2 separate regions of the Homo sapiens genome follow, and region 1 is linked to region 2. Evidence: promoter capture Hi-C in 16 types of primary human blood cells and fetal thymus (Javierre and others, 2016). All regions are on one chromosome and are shown on one strand. The core of a region is centred on a gene start or on the middle of the fragment in contact, and the rest is flanking DNA. Distances in the headings are between cores, read along the strand shown. Region 1 overlaps CEP95 (centrosomal protein 95). Region 2 holds the start of SMURF2 (SMAD specific E3 ubiquitin protein ligase 2).

Region 1 (6,597 bases), core at 2,662-5,161, 140 kb after region 2:
AAAGTTAATGTGTTAAGCATTGTCTAAGTGGTCTCAATTTTTCCCTACTTAGCAATCTAGCCCTCCTAATTGCACACTGCCAAAGAGATCTAATAAACCATTTCCTTCTACAAACCTTTTTATCCCATTGTCTATAGGTGTGTCTGGGGATCTGCTAGTTGTGAAGAGGGTGACTCCAGTGGGAAAAGCACTTCAACATAGCCTTAAGACCAAGGAAGCTAGTTTGGTACCTTTATAAATAAATTTTCCGAGCTTATTATTTTTTTCACATGCTTTTAATTCAAGTCTTTCACATTTCAAATTCTAAGATGTATTTTTAAAAACTGACTTGCATAATCTATTTTAAATGATAGCTGCTCATGATGTATTTTTCTCTAGAAACTGAAGACGCACTTGAAATAATATTTTAATTTATAACCTGTTTTCACAATAGGATACCATGTGTATGTACATAAAAAGGGAAAGGAAGAGGTTCCTGGATGAGGGTGCCTAGAAATTAGCTGAGTCCTTTTAAAGGGAAGAGAGAGGAAATAATCAAGAGAAGGAAAGAGCATTCTTGAAGGAGTAAAAAACAACTGAAAAAGTTAAGGAAGTTGGATCAGAAAAAGACTATTTCTGAAGAAACAATGGATGACCAAAGTAGATAAAACTAAATGTAAAATATGCAGGATTTTAGTTGGTGGAAGACAGGATAATTGGATTTGAACAATGGCATATCAAACAGTAGAAGTATCTGCAAAGACACGGCAAACCAGAAACTGCTGATACGAGTATAAAGCAGTGCAATCACTTTGGTGGGCAAGTTGGCAGTGGTGAAGAAATGTAGGCCTTATGATCCAGCAATCCTACTAGATGGAGATATCACAGAAACTCTTACACATATTCTAGGCTGTTCATTGCAGAATTTTTATAGTAATGAAAACTGGAAACAACATGTCCAGCAATAGGGGAAATAGATAGTGCTACACGCGTGTGTGTGTGTGTGTATATATATATATATATATATACACACACACACACACACATTAAGTGGCACACTGCAAGAACTCAGTCATGTCCAGCAGTAGGGGAAATGGATACTGCTATACATATACCCACACAAAAGTGACACACTGTAAGAACTCAGTTACACTGCAGTTAAAATGAATGAGCTGGATCTGTAAGGATCAACATAAATAGATTTCTAAGACAATGTCAGAAAAAAACGCAAGTTGCAGAATAATATATACAGTATGTAAATTTTTAAACAACATAAAACAATACTATGTTTAGACAAGTAATGCATGAGCTCTTAAAGTATAAAAACAAGGATCAGAAGAAAAGATGCCAACTTTAAGACAGTGGTTGCACTGAGGGTGGGGAAAAGAGATCTGTGGGGAGAGCAGAGGGGGTTTCTACTGTTTTATTTCTTAAACACAAAGGGGCTAAAGCAAATATAATTGTTAACACTTGCTACTTCTAGATGGGGAAGATCCAGGTGTTTGATATTACTTTTGATCCTTTTATATATTTCTCAACTATTTAAAATTAGAATATAAGTTATTAAGAACAGATGGAACTGCCTAAGTAGTTCACATGGATGTCCCCCTTCTCAGTCTCTCTGGGGTAAGTACCTGGCCTTGACTTCTTTGGCCCATACTCCACGATGCCATCACTGTGCTGAGACAGTGTCTCCTCAGTTCCATCCTCTACCTCCTCATTTCCAGTATTTTCTTCTTTATGGTCAGTCTTTTCTTTAATCCGATCACCCAGAGCACTTTTTAACATCTATTGAGAAAATTCTTTTCAACATCTTTCACTGATTTCAGCAGAATGTAAATTCGTAGGAGTAGGCAGACCTTTAAAAAAGCTTCCTTTGACAGTCACTAATAACAAGTTTTCAGACGCTTATGCATGTTTAATTATTTACTTTTATTTTGAGACAGGATCTCACTCTGTCACCCAGGCTGGAGTGCAGTGGTGCTAGCTGGGCTCACTGTAACCTCTGCCTACTGGGTTCCAGTGATCCTCCCATCTCAACCACTTGAGTAGCTGGGATTACAGGCATATGCCACCAAGCCTGGCTAATCTTTTATTTTTTGTAGAGATGGGGTTTTGCCATGTTGCCCAGGCTGGTCTCAAACTCCTGGGCTTAAGTGATCCACCTGCCTCAGCCTCTCAAAGTGTTGGAATTACAGTTGTGAGCCACCACACCTGGCATACATGTTTAGTTTTAAAAAGGTGTATATCAGTGCTATGGATCACTAAGTTTCAATAAACTTTAGAAAAAGTCACGTAGGGATTTAAAACATTCATTCAATGATACCTTAAAACTGTAATATTGTATTTTGTGAGAATCAGTGATCCATCCAATTTTATACCAGATCTGTCTTTAGCGGCAAAGGGGAACTATAAAGACATATCTAAAGAAAAATGGCTTAACATAATCGTTTATGTTAAATGATTTAGTTTTCATCAGAATTCAATAAAATTTGGATAAATCTGCACCAAATTTAGTTAGATCATGAAACGCTGAGAGATCACTTCCTGTTCTACCTGCTTGACTTACGGAACATTTTCACAGTAACTATTAATAAGACACAACTAATTTTCTAATACCTCACTTTCAATTGAGAGATTACTTAAATGCTCACTTAACCCATGGGAATCTCAATATAGATGAAAAAACAAGACTTGCCCAATCTAGTTCAGAAAGCCGCTGAGAGAGTTTTTCTGATACATCATGTAATTCTTGTTCTGTTAATCTCTTTCTTGGCCTCTGGGGGAAAGGTGAATTGCAGGATGAGGCTGTAGCTCTGTTTTCATTTCTGTAATAAAAGTGACCATTTGACAGTAAAATAGCTAGGTGTCTATTATTTAGTTTAAAATAACTGTAATACGTACTTTAACAAATACTTCATTCTGGTCTTCACAGCTAAATTTGGAGATCATGCCCCTGCATTTTCAAATTCCTTTGTAAACAGACTGTAAACACTGAAGTCTGCAGTAATGTTACCTTTTTCCTTTGGGAGGCTTCCTTGTCCTAGGCCCTTGGACCTGAGCTGGATATACTTCCCATTTGCTGCCTTTAGGCAACTTGGAAATTAAGAAAAGTCCATCATCTAGATCCTATTAAAAACAGAAAAAAAGTTGATTTGAAAAAGCTACAAATAAGAAACATGAACTTTCTGGGAGTGAGGAAGGGAGGAACTGTGGCACAAAGCTACGTGCCTTCAATCTCCGTGTTTTGAAGTGCATTTGTCAAAAGACCCTATTGACACCCAGTGCACCAAAGGACTGGAGCAATGTCTAGAAACTTGTGCTCAGAGAACAAATGTGGCTCAGGATGCCATTCAAATAAAAACACAGGCCAGGTGTTCTCTAAATATGAAATTTCAGGGATTACCACTATACCTGAGCAACAAAAAAATTATCACTAGTACAAAGTATTCAAGTGGCTATCTTTTGTATCAATGTCAATAAAGGCTGTCCAAAATTGAAACAGTTAAAACAAAGACAACACCTCTCAAAATATGAATATAAACCCTTAACATTTTAAATTTCCTTTTTTTTTTGAGACAGTTTTCCTCTGTTGCCTAGGCTGGAGTGCAATGGCTTGATCCGCCTCCCAGGTTCAAGCGATTCTCCTGCCTCAGCCTCCCTAGTAGCTGGGATTACAGGTATATGCCACAACACCTGGCTAATTTTTTTGTGTATTTTTAGTAAAGACGGTGTTTCGCATGTTGGCCAGGCTGGTCTCGAACTCCTGACCTCGAGTGATCCACCCGCCTCAGCCTCTCAAAGTGCTGGGATTACAGGCATGAGCTACCGTGTCCGGCTAAATTTATTTCTTGGTCTTAGAGATAATCTTTTAGAAAATACTTCTTGTGATGAAGAAACATTTAATGTTTGTTTGTTTTTTTGTTTTTTGAGATGGGGTCTTACTGTCACCCAGGCTGGAGTGCAGTGGTGCAGTCTTGGGTCACTGCAACCTCCACCTCCTGGGTTCAAGCAATTCTCCTGACTCAGCCTCCAGAGTAGCTGGGATTACAGGCACCTGCCACCGCGCCTGGCTAATTTTTGTATTTTCAGTAGAGACAGGGTTTCACCATCTTGGCCAGGCTGGTCTTGAACTCCTGACCTCGTGATCCACCCACCTCAGCCTCTCAAAGTGCTGGGATTACAGGTGTGAGCCACCGCACCCGGCCATTTATTTAATGTTTAATGATATCTTTAATTTCACTTCATTATCTTTTTCTATTAAAGTAAAATTAAATACCCTTTAGTAGGCTGGGTATGGTGATTCATGCCTATAATCTCAGCAATCTGGGAAGCAGAGGCAGGCAGGTGAGGCCAGGAGTTTGAGACCAGCCTGGCCAACATGGCAAAACCCCGTCTCTACTAAAAATATTTTTAAAAAAAATCAGCCAGGTGTGGTGGCACGTGTGCCTGTAGTCCCAGCTACTTGGGAGGCTGAGGCAGGAGAATCACTTGCCTGGGAGGTGGAGGTTGCAGTGGGTGCAGACTGCACCACTACACTCCAGCCTGGGCGACACAGCGACACTCTGTCTCAAAAAAAAATAAAACAAACAACCTTTTACTAAATAGCAACTAAAATATAATCATATTTTAATAAAACTTTTAAAATAAAGTATTTCTAGCTCAATGAATTATTTGAAAATAAACACTCCCCTTTAACTGCCACCCAGGTCAAGAAACAGAGTATTACCAACTCAGAAATATCTCTAAAACCCCCACTATGATTCCCCCAAAAGTAAACATTATCTTATGACTCCATTTTAACACCTCTTTTTATCTAATCCCTCTCCTGTTTAGATGCACAGAATGTTGAGAATGTGGTCACCTATTGTTAATAATGCTTATTTCATCTCTGTACTTTTAATGCATTGCTTGAATGTTTAAATAATGAAAATGTATCACTGTTTATATATCTACCCTGTGTACATACCTGCCTGTTGTTTTTCTTATTTTATTTTTTTCTTTTTGAGACAGGGTCTTGCTCTGCTGCCCAGGCTGGAATGCAGTGGTGTGGTCACAGCTCACTGAAGCTCCTGGGCTCAAGTGATCCTCCTGCCTCAGCCTACTAAGTAGCTAAGATCACAGGCATGCACCACCACTCCAGGCTAATTTTCTATTTTTAGCAGAGACAAGGTCTCACTATGTTTCCCAGGGTGGTCTCAAACTCTGGCACTCACATGAGCCTCCCAAAGTGCTGGGATTATGGGTGTGAGCCACCGAACCCAGTCCTGTTCTTTTTAGAAAGATAAGGACAGGATGACTATATAAAAAAGGTTTTTTCTTTTTTTTTTTTGAGATGAAGTCTTACTCTGTCACCCAGGCTGGAGCGCAGTGGCGTGATCTTGGCTCACTGCAATTGAACCAAATAGATCAATATGTTAACAGTGGTTCATGGTGGATAATGGGAATATGCATGGATGGTTATTTTCTTTTCCACTCTGTGTTTTCTAAATTTGAAATTATTAAATTACGGACACAATATGGACTCTGAAGCCAGAATGTCCAAGTTCAAATCCTGACTCTGTAATTGCTGTGTAACCTTGCCCTCTCTACATCAGCTTCCCAACAATAAATAAATATAGTAGCTACTCCAGAGTTGTTATGGGCAGTAAATTATTCAATACCCCTAAAGTATCCAGAACTGCGCCTGGCACAACATAAACATTCACTATGTGTTGGCTCTTATTATTTCCCTTTATATGCATTCGTTTTTCTCCTATCTTCCTAGAACAAGAATGTGCAGGTGTATACAGAGGCAAATTTTAAGGAGTACGATGCTTTGACTAGTGCAATATGCTTGACAATTCTAGCAGACTTCTTTAAATATAGGGGCTTCCTTGACAAAGAATAAAGACTTCACCAATACACATACACACACACGGCCTTCTAATCAATTACCAACACACACACAGACATACATACAAGTGTACTTCTAGCCAACTGAAAGTAAGCTTTTCCACTTACCCCAGAAAATTCCGTATGCTCTCCAGTAGAATTTACGGCTGGGGAGCAGTGACTTGAATGCAAGTATTCTTTTCCTATGGGGCAGGGTGCTCGAGGCTCTGAAGGGTGGTAGGGTGGATGTAAAGGAATAGCTGCTCGGATAGGCTCCCCTAGCTTCCTAGCATTTGGAATCCCACTCACAGAAAGGGTTTCCGCTAGTAAGACAAATTAAAGTGGATATTACGATGCAATTCTAAGAAATAAACCATTTTATATACATACATACATACCTATATAAACATGTTCACATACATTAGAAATATTTTTTAAACTTAAGACAAAGCACATAAAAAAATAATTAAACCAGGGATATAGCCTCAGCACACAGGGATCTAATTAAATTAGGATGTAATTTTTTTTTTTTAATTTTTAAAAAAAGTAGAGATGAGGTCTCGCTATGTTGCCCAGGCTGGTCTCCAACTCCTGGGCTCAAGTGATCCTCCTGCCTCGGCCTCCCAAAGTGCTGGGATTACAAGTGTGAACTACCATGACTGGCCCCGGATGTAATTTTAATGTTATTATCATAAAACTGTTCCCTGAAAGTTACTTTAAAAACTGGAAGCAACTTAAATGGCT
Region 2 (6,678 bases), core at 595-3,094:
GTATTTATTTTTGATATGGAGTCTCGCTCTGTCACCCAGGCTGAAGTGCAGTGGCGTGATCTCGGCTCACTGCAACCTCCCGTGTTCAAGCGATTCTCTTGCCTCAGCCTCCCTAATTGCTGGGACCACAGGCATGCGCCACCAGGCCCGGCTAATTTTTTTGTATTTTTTTTTAGTACAGACGGGGTTTCACCATGTTGGCCAGGCTGGTCTCAAACTCCTGACCTCAAATGATCCGCCCACCTCGGCCTCCCAAAGTGTTGGAATTACAGGCGTGAGCCACTGTGCCCGGCCTATCTGTGGTATTTTTAGTGTGATGTCTAGAACTTCATATACTTTTTTGGATTACTTTTAATTGTAGGGCTGTATCCAAACTGATGAAATGTTCTCGCAGGTAACTATCTGGAGAAGTGAGTTCACTGATGTATTAAAAGAAATGACTGGCATGGAATAAGGATTAAAATATATTAATCCAAAACATTTAAAATTGCATTAATGTTATAATAGCCTAAAGCAAAACTAACGAATCACATAAAAAATCCCCCACGCTATTGTCCTTAGTAGTTTACATTGTGCTAGATACTTTCGCATGTATATGCATACAACTTCTATTCTGTTTTTAAACTTTGCATTACATATACATTCTTCCATATTATATGATCTTCATAAAAATAGTTACATGGCTGCATAAAAAACCATGCGGTTCCTGGACTATTATGCTATTCCCTCATTCCCCTTTTGTTATTAATGGAATATAGCAAAGAACATCTTCTGTACGATTATTTGTCAAGAATAGGGCCGGTGCGGTGGCTCAGGTCTGTAATCCCAGCACTTTGGGAGGCCGAGGCGGGCTGATCGCTTGAGGTCAGGAGTTCGTGACCAGCCTGGGCAACATGGGAAAACCTAAACGTCTCTACTAAACATGTCTCTACTAAAAATACAAAAATTAGTGGGGCGTAGTGGTGCACACTGTGGTCTCAGCTACTCCAGAGGCTCAGGTGGGAGGATCACCTGAGCCCCGGAAGTTGAGACTGCAGTGAGCCGTGTTCGCACCACTGCACTCCAGCCTGGGCGACAGAGGGAGACCCTGTCTAAAAACAAAAAAATAAAAAATAAATTTCTAGCAGTACAGTTACAATGTCAAAGGATAAGGTACACATTTTTTAAAAACTTTTCTCTTTCTCCTCCTGAGATAACGAAATACAGTAGCGTATGAACAACTCTTCATACATTACTCTCCAAGGTTTATCTTGTTAATCCTTTAAGACGTATCATCTCCCCATCCTTGGCTGCACCTGAAAAGAGCGGGAGTCGGCAGGTAACCTGATCTCCTCCACCAGGTGAGTCCCGGATGGAGGTGTCAACTACAAGACCAGGAGCAGAGCATTCCTGGGGTTTTGCTGGAACCATCGGCGTGGGAATGCTTTCTCTTCCCTCGCCCGAAAGACGCCAAGTTCCCGGCAGGCAGCGGACTCGGTTCTAACCTTCCTCGCCCCAGCCTCTCGGAGCGCCCTGCACGCAGTGGGCGTCTAATAAAATGCAGTTGGCCCTGCTTGGACAAAAGTTCTCCCTTAAGTGGCCCGGACAGTAAACCCCTCCAGGTGCCACAGAGCTGCCGCGCCCGCCGCCGCTTTGCTCCCTGCCTGCTCCCTCCCAGCGTTCCGCGTGGGACCCTCGGCGGCAGCTCACACCCTCCCTGACTGCCGGTGCCCGCCAGGGCACCCTGCGCGCGCCCGCCGGCCCCGCCCCGGCCCCGCCCCGCCCCGCCGGCCCCGCCTCCCGTCTCCTCCCCGCCCCCCGGAGCCGACGAGTGGCGGCGGCGGCCCCAGGTCCCGGGTCCCTCAGACAAGAGGGCGGGTGGAGGAGGAAGCGGCCGAGCCCAGAGTTCTGCTCCGGCGCCCCCGAGCACCGCCCGCTTCAGCCGACCAGCCCCGTCGGCTACTGGGCCTCGCCGAGACGAGAGGAGGGAAAGGCCTCGGCGGCCGCGAGGAGGCGGCGGGGGCGCGGGCGGAGGCGGCGCGGGCGGCCGCGGCTGCCGCTTTGTTGTGCGGCCCGGGCCGAGGAAGGAGAAGTGGGAGGAGGGGGGAGCTCGGCGTCCCGCTCCCTCCGCGGCTCATGGCGACGACTCTCGGCACATCCGGGACCCTCCGGCCGTGGCGGCCGAGGCGCCGGCTGCTCGGGCCCCAGCCCCGGCCGCTGTGGTGACTCCGCCGCGCCTCGCCGTCGCCCCCGTGCCGCCCGCCGCCCCCGCCGCCCCCGCCGCCGGGGACATGTCTAACCCCGGAGGCCGGAGGAACGGGCCCGTCAAGCTGCGCCTGACAGGTGAGGGGGGGCGGCGGGCCGGGCTGGGCAGCCGCGGGGTGGGCGAGCTGGCGGGGGGTGCCTGTGGCCTTGGGAAGGGCCAGGGTCGCGATCAATGATGAGTTGGGGGTCGGAGGAATGGGAAGGCCTAGTTCAGGGAGAGTAATTGGAAAACCACTTGCTCTGGTTTGGACATTGTTTAAAAAGCCGAGGATGACTCGGGGCGGGGGGTGGTGTTTTGTGGAGGGGAGAATACACCGGTTCGCATCGCAGGCGGATTTCAGGTCGGAAAGTCTTGGTCAAGGAGCCAGACGCTGCCTCCCGGGGCTCGGGGAACAGCCCCTGGGCTACCGCCCAGGTGAGATCGTGAAGGGGATGAAGAGCTCCCGTGGCGAGGATTATTGAATCCGGTTGCTGACTGCGCGCAGTAAACACTCCTTAAAGATGGAGCGCTTAACGGGAGGGTGTGCGTGTGTGTTCCCGGGTTGTTACCTTGCACACACCCAGTTATGCCCGCATGAAAAACCTTTACTCCCCGCCGCCGGCCACCGCTGCCCGGGCCACACACCTTAAACTCATGTCTCTGAGGTGAGGAGACAGGTTGACTTTTCCGGTGTGCCTGTCTGATCCGACGGCTTGGGCTCATTGTACACTGTGTTTTGGAAGTGTCTGATTGTAGGGTGGCATGTTTGGGGTTGTTCCTTTTAGGCCGCAGAACTTGTGTCTAACTTCTAACGCCAGACCTGCTTTAAAAACACACTTTTTTGGGGGGGGTGCATTGCTAAGTATGTGCTCATACAAACTTTCGAGCAAACTTTCTGTTACTCTCCCCACCCTCCCCATTCCTTTTTCGAAATGGAAAAGAATGTCCGGAGGGGTTGCCAGATAGAAGACTACACTTACAAAGTGTTTATGATTCCAGGTGCATGAAATCTTTAACATTACAGGTACGTTTTGCTTACAGTGCCATTTTTGGTATTCTTACATGGACATGCCACCCCCGTTTTAGGAGAACTTTTATTTGGTTTGTAAAGGAATTGGAATCACGGCGTTATCCTACCTTCACCATTTACCCCTGATAAATTGTCCACGTTTGTATTCGGGTGAGTGGTGAGAAAGATAATTTTCCGTAGAGGATTTGTGTGTGCGTGCACGTGTACGGATAAACTGTAATTATGTTTGCCCACACTAGACTTTGAGATTTATTTGGACTAATTTTGTAGTTAAATGCCTGTGTGTCACATCCCAGTCCACTGGCTGAACTTGCTGGATGAAAACTTGCAGTGAATTTGGTATTTGAGAATTTAGCTTGAATGTATGTTGGCTGCAATTTAAATAATATATTACTTTCATGGCAGTTTTCCTTTCCCTAGGGAAAATTGCAGGGAATCATTAACTGAGTGATTCTTAATGGAAAACCTGGATTGGAGGATACTTGTATTCCACCCCCTCCCCCCTCATTCAGTGTCCTTACATTGGGAGGAGTCAGTGGAAACCTTTATAGGGGATCTTTGTTGCTTTAGAGTTTATCTGTTGCTGTTGCTGTCTGTAGTCAGTGATCGTGGAAAGAACATGTGATCCCAGGTGTGCAGAAAGCATCAGAAATAGGCTGTTTCCATTTACCCTCCTCTGGGCTATGTAGAGAAAATGAGGGAAAAAATTGGGTTTTTGATTTTCTGCAGATAAGGTTAGTTGAGGTTTTTAGTATGACTTAATAGATCTTAAAGTGTTTATCTGTGGTTTCCGTACTGCCTATGATACATTATAAGAATTTATAATTAAAGTTTATTAAGAGGAAAGATTATGCTTATATTTTAGGGGAAGGGGGAATATTGAACTACATTTATAGTGATTTTGTTTCAGGTTTTTCTGAGGAATTTTAAATACCCTGTGTCCTCTTAATAGTAAAAACAGTTTGAGGTACTCTGAGTTTCTTACAACTATTTGTCTCTGAATAGTTTTCTCTTAAAATTTGACAAATATTAAAAACATTGTCCTTCCTTCTTTGGTTACAGTGGAGTCTCTTCTGTTTTGCCAGGAAAGTTAACATATTTTTTCTTCCATTTTTGTTCATCATTTATAAATTAGATGGTATAGATTTTAGCAAATAGATCTCAAGAGCTGGATTCAATTAGCAGCTTTTTAGGACATAAACATTAAAGGGTTAGATGGAAAAGATTGTTTTGACTGACTGGATAAATGACAGGGCTGTGTTTGATGTGCGTCCAGGAATTGGTCTGGAGCTGGTGCCCAACTTCTCAGTCCATCTTGAGAAGCCAAATAAAATATTTAACCTAGGCCTCATTTTGTTTAAAAAAAAAAAAAAAAAAAAAGTTGATTCTTTGTGAAGACCTTAAGAAATGTTTGGCATACCTTTAGACTAAGTGTTTAACAGTTCATTTAGATCTGGGTTGCCTAATAGAGGAAAAAAAATCACTTAAAAAAAGACAGATCCCACAGTGAATTTATATTTGGTTTACAATACACTTGGGCTATAAGGTGTTTTAAAATTATTGTTCTTTGCTTTAAGTTAATACCATATTAGTATTTTAAATTTATAGAGTACCTTTGATTTCAAGATGCTGTATAAACTTTAGTTACTTGATAATAACTTTATTGTGGAATTGCCCCTTTGCTGAAAGGTATAAACATTTCTTACATGGTGATGCACACACTCACACACACACACTCACACACTCATACACACTCTCTCTGAAGAAGAGGAAATATTTAAGCCATGAGATCTCTGCCCACAATTGATATTAAACCTTTCCACATATTATTCTTAAAACCACAATCAGTGAACTGTTTGGTATTTGTCAATGCTAAGAAGGTGGGGCTAATTTAATAATTTGATCCCAAATTTTAGATTCCTCAGGCAGTTGGGGGTTAGAATCTGATTTCATCCATCAAGCTACTTCTGTTCTTTATGACACATTAACATATGATCATTGAAATGGGCTGTATGGTAACACTATCAACTTCAACTACTGTTTCTATAACATTGATTACAAAATGTATAATGTCTATATCATTATACTTATATCTGATACAGGCTTTTCTTTCAATGGTTTGGATAGAAAAATATTCTTTACAGTAAAAACTTTGGGATAATTTTTTATACCATTATTGTTTCTGAAAACCAAAGGCTGGAAAAAGCAGTTTAGTGTAATTTCTAATATTTTAAATTCTTAGGTATGGAGAAGCAGAATAAGATTACTCCTCCAGAACATTTGTTTCAGACCTTTTTATACATTTAATGTTTTTGTATGCTGCTTCTCATGTTATTAATTTCAAAGCCCTTGGCAATAAGGAGGTTAACCTTGTCTATAATGTAAGGAAGTTTAACTTTAAAAATTTCCCTTTAGATATGCTAGCGTCTTAATCTTGTTTCACTACATATTTTATCGATTCAAGGCTTTAAAAATTGTAGCTTAATTCTATTTCACAGGTTTTTAAGTATGCCTATACATCATAATGACTTTATTTATTTATTTTTTGAGTTGGAGTTTCACTCTTGACTGGAGTTGAAGGGCTTGATCTCGGCCCACTGCAACCTCCACCTCCCGGGTTCAAGTGATTCTCCTGCCTCAGCCTCCCGAGTAGGTGGGATTACAGGCGCCCACCACCACGCCTGGCTGGTTTTTTTTGTATTTTTAGTAGAGACGGGTTTTGCCACGTTGGCCAGGCTGGTCTCAAACTCTGGACCTCAGGTGATCCGCCCGCCTTAGCCTTCCAGTGTGCTGGGATTACAGGCATGAGCCACGGCACCCGGCCCATAATGACTTTATATACTAGAGGTGTTAGTGATTTGAATGTCCCCAATTTGTTTTATTTTCTTGGTTTCTGAGGAGGAAGCCAGTGTAGTTGAGCTCCTTCCTTTTCTTTTAAATTCTGTCTTCTAGTCTGACCCTCTTCAGGCAGGCAGTAGAACATGCCAAGGTCCTTTTTGTAGTTTGGTATTCGTAATAAAGTCTGTGTATTTTAGTCATCACTTTTACTTTTTTCTTGTTGGTTGAGCTATTACTATCACAACATACTAACATCTCATTTAACATAACTCAGTTTTAAAGATAAATGAAGGGTCATGCTTAGGCATACAAGATTTTTATTTTAGCCTTTTTTTTTTTTGAGGCAGAATCTCATTCTGTTGCCCACACTGGAGTGCAGTGGCAACAGCGTGCAGTGAGCAATCCCGGCTTACTGCAGCCTTGACCTCCCGGCTCAGGTGATTTTCCCACCTTGGCTTCCCAACTGGCTGGGACTACAGGTCCATGCCACTGTGACTGGCTGATTTTTTTACCTTTTTTTTTTTTTTCCAGTACAGATGGGGTTTCTCCAGGTTGCCCAGGCTGGTCTTGAACTTCTGTGCTCAGG

What was found. The method cuts DNA at HindIII sites, captures the fragments that hold promoters and counts their contacts. A CHiCAGO score of 5 or more calls a contact.
Region 1: a contact is called between a fragment that was not itself captured here and the fragment with the promoter of SMURF2 in region 2, in 1 of 17 cell types (M0 macrophages). The highest score is 5.6, in M0 macrophages.

The regions. Positions count from the first base shown.
Region 1 is chr17:64,522,281-64,528,877 of GRCh38, reverse strand. CEP95 (centrosomal protein 95) reads right to left here. Exons shown (of 20, transcript NM_138363.3): 8 at 5,983-6,176; 9 at 2,996-3,108; 10 at 2,678-2,807; 11 at 1,614-1,767. Among named protein-coding and RNA genes, the nearest start is that of CEP95, 19 kb to the right of the region's middle. The HindIII fragment of the contact is 4,120 bases long and covers 1,852-5,971 here.
Region 2 is chr17:64,657,473-64,664,150 of GRCh38, reverse strand. SMURF2 (SMAD specific E3 ubiquitin protein ligase 2) reads left to right here and starts at 1,844. Exons shown (of 19, transcript NM_022739.4): 1 at 1,844-2,322. The coding sequence starts at 2,271. RefSeq lists an enhancer at 992-1,550 and silencers at 1,701-2,100, 2,151-2,350. The HindIII fragment of the contact is 18,568 bases long and covers 1-6,678 here.